Regions from separate parts of the Homo sapiens genome. Here region 1 is linked to region 2. Evidence: promoter capture Hi-C in human tissues and cell types (Jung and others, 2019). All regions are on one chromosome and are shown on one strand. The core of a region is centred on a gene start or on the middle of the fragment in contact, and the rest is flanking DNA. Distances in the headings are between cores, read along the strand shown. Region 1 overlaps ZNF347 (zinc finger protein 347). Region 2 holds the start of ZNF331 (zinc finger protein 331).

Region 1 (2,700 bases), core at 160-2,659, 390 kb before region 2:
ATTTTCCCTTCATATTGAAAAAGCTGCAGTTCAGGCAGATGTGACTGAAGGCTTAATCCAAGCTGATTTTTAATAAGCTTGTTTCTTGCATCTCTTTTATCATGTTCATCTCTTCCATGAGTGAGATTGCCTTCTTGGGTCAAAAGCACTCCTTTGTAATTTCCTTCAGCATCTCTGCATTGATACTCAAGGCCATGTGTATTTTTCTGGACTTCCCTGAAGGAACATCCTTCAATGTCTTGGCTTTCCTGTCTTTCCAACATCACTGTTTGGAATACTTCTCCTGTATTACTCTTCCCTTTGTGTAGTAAATCTTTCATTACAAATTCGGAAGAGAGAGCTACAAGATATAAAGATCCATAGGTTTCCAATTAATTGTAGTACGTAAACAAGTATTTTACACCGAAAAACAATATTACACCGAAAAACAATATTAAACCAAAAGCAATTCTTATATTAAACAGATTTATGAAACTTCAGAACAATAATATTCAATTTTTAGGAACACAAAGGAAAGAGGATTGTTTAATAAAGTTGATTCCATGTAATTCAAATTAATAGTATGGAAGCCTAGTTCCCAACCTACAATACTGTAGCCAGCAAAGCAATCGTTCAGTCATAAAGGAGAGAAAGTCTTCCCCAGACAAACAAAGCTAAGGGAATTTACCATGATCAGACCTGTTTTACAAGAAATGATAAAGGGAGTTCTTCAAATCCAAAGAAAATGACACGATGTAACTGTTACACTAATATTAATATCATAATCATGGTGTGCAAACCATTTGTATATTTACTAAGAGGGCTAAAAGATAAAACTATTAAAAATAAGCACAACAGTTTGTTAAGTGATAGGCAGTACACAACATAAATTGCGACATAAAAAATTCAAAATGCAGGGTGAGAAGGGAACGAACATGCACAGAGGTTTTAGTTTCTTTTTTTGCAATCAAAGTTAGTTGATATTGATTTGAGATAAATTGTTAAAAGCTATAGGATGTTTTTATATTTATTTATTTATTTTTTATTATACTTTAAGTTTTAGGGTACATGTGCACAATGTGCAGGTTAGTTACATATGTATATATGTGCCATGTTGGTGTGCTGCACCCATTAACTCGTCATTTAACATTAGGTATATCTCCTAATGCTATCCCTCCCCCCTCCCCCCACCCCACAACAGTCCCCAGAGTGTGATGTTCCCCTTCCTGTGTCCATGTGTTCTCATTGTTCAATTCCCACCTGTGAGTGAGAACATGCGGTGTTTGGTTTTTTGTCCTTGCGATAGTTTGCTGAGAATGATGGTTTCCAGCTTCATCCATGTCCCTAAAAAGGACATGAACTCATCATTTTTTATGGCTGCATAGTATTCCATGGTGTATATGTGCCACGTTTTCTTAATCCAGTCTATCATTGTTGGACATTTGGGTTGGTTCCAAGTCTTTGCCATTGTGAATAGTGCCACAATAAACATACGTGTGCATGTGTCTTTATAGCAGCATGATTTATAATCCTTTGGGTATATACCCAGTAATGGGATTGCTGGGTCAAGTGGTATTTCTAGTTCTAGATCCCTGAGGAATCGCCACACTGACTTCCACAATGGTTGAACTAGTTTACAGTCCCACCAACAGTGTAAAAGTGTTCCTATTTCTCCACATCCTCTCCAGCACCTGTTGTTTCCTGACTTTTTAATGATCGCCATTCTAACTGGTGTGAGACGTAAGCCTTATTTTATGGTCACCACAAAGTAAAAGCCTGTAATAGACATATTAATAATAAAAAGCAATGAATTAAAACATACTGCCGTTTTGTTACTTCTTTTCTAATTGTTTTCTAACTTCTCTCTTGCTTTCTTTCTTACTGTCTTCCTTTGTGTTTAAGTGATTTCTCTGGTAGTATAAGTCCTTACCTATCAATAATAACATTAAATAGAAATGGACTAAATTTTCCAATTACAAGAGAGAGGCCTGCTGAATGGATTATAAAACATACAGCTAACTATATGTTGCCTACAACAAACTCACTTCACCTATAAGGATACATGTAGACAAAAAGTGAGGGGATGGAAAAAGATATTTCATGGAACTAGAAATCAAAAAAGAGCAGTAGTAGGTATACTTAGATAAAATAGACTTTAAGTCAATAAGTGTAAAAAGAGACAAAGTCAGTATATAATGAGAAAAGGATCAACTTAGCAAAAGGACATAATAAATAAGTACACACCCAAATATGTAAAGCTAATGTTAATAAATCTAAAGGGAGAGACAGGTAGCAATACAATAATATTAGGGGACTTCAAAACACAATTTTTGGTAATGAATAGGTCATCCAGGCAGAAAACCAATAAAAAAAAAATTAGAGTTAAAATATACTGCAGACTAAATGGACCTAAAAAAAGACTTTTTAAATTTTTTTTCTATTTTAAACAGATGGGATCTCCCTATGTTGCCCAGGCTGTGGTCCATTGCCTAGTCACAGGTGAGTTCACAGTGCACTGCAGCCTTGAACTTCTGGCCTTAAGCATTCCTCTCTCCTCAGCCTCCCAAGTAGCTAAAATTACAGGTATGTTCCATGCCCTAACAGACGTTTACAGACCATTTTATCCAGCTGTTGCAAAATACATATTCTTCTCATCAGCACATGGATTATGCTTCAGGATAGATTATATGTTAAGACACCAAACAAGTCTCAATAAATTCA
Region 2 (2,700 bases), core at 77-2,576:
CTTGAACCCAGGAGGCGGAGGTTGCAGTGAGCCGAGATCGCACCATTGCACTTGAGCCTGGGCAACAAGAGCGAAACTCCGTCTCAAAACAAACAAACAAACAAACAAAAAATTATTCTCTGGAAATTCTGGGTAACGTCAGTGGATTACATCAATGTTAATCTTCTGGTTGTGGTATTATATACTACAATCACCAGCTGAGGTAACCAGGTGAAAGGTACACAAGATCTCTCAATTTTATTTCTTGTAACTACATATGAATCTAAAGTCTATCTAATTAAAAGAGAAAAAGATTTTCAGAAAAAAAGCATTTTGTGAACATACTTCAACATTGTGTACAACTATAGCTACTTCCTTGGCATAAATACCAAAAAGTGGGATTTTGAGTCAAAATGAGACTGTGGTTAAGTACCTGCAACATCCTGTAGACCCTGTGACGTTAGTACTTGGAATGAGAGCGGGACTCACGGGGCATAACTGCTACCTGTACATTGTTTACAATGCAGCAAGCAAGGGACACCGAATAGCAGCTCCGGCAGCCTGTGCTAGCGGCCTGCAGAGAATTCCAGGTGACGCTCCAGAGGGGCTAGGAGAGGATACCCTTCTGAGGACAGCCATGGCTCGCCCGGCATCACCCCACTCAAGAGGCCAGACGGGGTCCCAGCTGGGGTGACACAGCTCCTTTCCCAGTCGGGAAGGGGCGTCTGCAGGGACCAGGAAGGGCTTAGCTTGGGGCTGCCCGCTCCGGCACCGACCTGGGACGCGCCCTGAGGCCCCTGCCTGGGACCGTCCCGGACTACATTTCCCAGAGACCATCCAGGAGTACGCCGTGCTGCATGCTGGAACACGGGGCTTGGGGCTCTGGTTTCCCCCGACGGCCCCGCGTCCTCTTCTAGCCTCACCCTCTCCCGAGGCCCCAGCGTTGGGGGACTACCGGGTGCGTCTGCGGCTTTGGGAGAGTGGGAGGAGGGAAAGGGATGGGAGGGGTGCACGCACACGTGTCAGTGTGTCCGCGTGTCAGCATCTGTGCAGGCGCACGTGTGTGTCGGGCTCTGTTGTGTCTGCACATGCGTGTCGGCATCTGTGCGTGCGCACACGCCCGTCAGGGTCTGTGTGCCCGCACAGGCACGTCAACAGCTGAGCACGCTATGTATCGGGGGTCTGTGTACGCTCACATACGTGTCGGGGTCTGGGTACGTGCACATACGTGTAGGGGTCTGTGTGCACATGCGTGTCGGGCTCTGCTGCTGTCTGCGCGCTGCGGCCGCTGGGTGCGCGTGCGCATGCGCGCTGGCCTCCAGGGGGTGGCGGGACCGAGTGTGTGACGCACTTGCGTGGGAGTACGAGGCTGACGCGGCGGCCCTGTCCCCGTAACTGTGACACGGGTGCACGCGAGCGTCATTGGGGGCGATGGGGGCCGTGCTGGGTGCGCGTTTGCACCAGTGACGCAGCCGCTGCATCTCCGCCAGTCCGCGCAGGTGAGATTGGTGCGCGTGGCTCCGAGGGGAGACGGGCACGGGGCTTCTGACGGTGACGCACTTGCTGGAGAGTGTGGGGTGACACAGCCGGGCTCTCCCCATAACTGGTGACCGGGGGTGCTCCAGAGGCTTTGGGTCAACGCAGCCCGTGCCTGTGAACCTCGGCGGTGCGTCCCTGGGACTCTGCTCCGTGAGGTGCGCTCTGGGGGTTGTGCGGGGGCAGCGGTCGGGACGGGTCTCCGTGGCCCACGGATGCACCTCTGCACCGTGTGGGGTGGTGGGGCCCGTAGCATGGCCGTGCTGGGCGTTAGTGGGTATGAGGGGCGCAGATGTGTCTCAGGACAGAGTGAGCTGTGGTGAGGCTGAGCTGTGCAGACTTGTGCTGGGATGGGTGATCGGGCCTTCTGGGTGACGCAGGTGTGTGTGACAACACAACCTGTAGCTTCAGCGTCTCTGTGCTGGGATGGATGATCGGGCCTTCTGAGTGATGCAGGTGTGTGTGACAGTGCAACTTGTAGCTCCAGCGTCTCTGCTGCTTCCCCTGCCTTCACCTCCTAACCAAGCGGTACCTGCCTGAGAACAAGGGCCGCGGAGGGACGTGAGCGCCTGAGCCTCGCCTGGAAATTCACCAGCAAGAAGGCAGAAACAGCCATGAGGTGACGCTTTCAGAGCCAGAAGTGCTGTGCATGCAGGCCACCTGAGTGACAGGGGACGGTGGCCTCAGGAGTAGAATTCCTCCTGTAGAGGGACAGGTCCCTGATGTGGGAGACAGGGAGGGGGGCAGCTCCACGCGTCATCATCTCAATCGCCACAGCGTGCTCTTCAGGAATCTCCCAGAAACTCCATCTCGGGGCCTCGTATTTCTCATTGGTTTTATTAGGTATGGCAGGTGTTACCCTTCCGGTTCTGTTTTCCCCAGGCCAGCATCCTTCAGAAAAAGCATCCCCGAGGAGGAAGACGAATCGTTAAACATCTGAAAGGGTCAGGTGAGTATCCTTTTTTTTTTATATTAAATGATATGTGTTTATAAGACTTAAGACCAAACATTAAAGGTAGATGACCAAGATTTGAGTCCTGTTTCTGCCTCTTAGCTTTTTGAGCCTTCTGAAGATAGGCTTGTGAGGAGGGTGAAATGCATTAACACGCATAAAACCCATAGACGCGCACCCCTGAGTGGGAGTGCACAGTGAGTGCTGCTGTTTTGTGCTAAGTCTGGATGTCT

The links. The method cuts DNA at HindIII sites, captures the fragments that hold promoters and counts their contacts. A contact is called where the count stands out against the background at its distance.
Region 1: a contact is called between a fragment that was not itself captured here and the fragment with the promoter of ZNF331 in region 2, in 1 of the 25 tissues and cell types used here (aorta).

What each region holds. Positions count from the first base shown.
Region 1 is chr19:53,142,217-53,144,916 of GRCh38, forward strand. It overlaps ZNF347 (zinc finger protein 347), which reads right to left. Exons shown (of 5, transcript NM_032584.3): 5 at 1-340. Among named protein-coding and RNA genes, the nearest start is that of ZNF415, 11 kb to the left of the region's middle. The HindIII fragment of the contact is 4,843 bases long and covers 1-2,700 here.
Region 2 is chr19:53,536,819-53,539,518 of GRCh38, forward strand. It overlaps ZNF331 (zinc finger protein 331), which reads left to right and starts at 1,327. Exons shown (of 6, transcript NM_001079906.2): 1 at 1,327-1,478; 2 at 2,398-2,464. RefSeq lists enhancers at 1,055-1,571, 1,357-1,406. The HindIII fragment of the contact is 21,395 bases long and covers 1-2,102 here.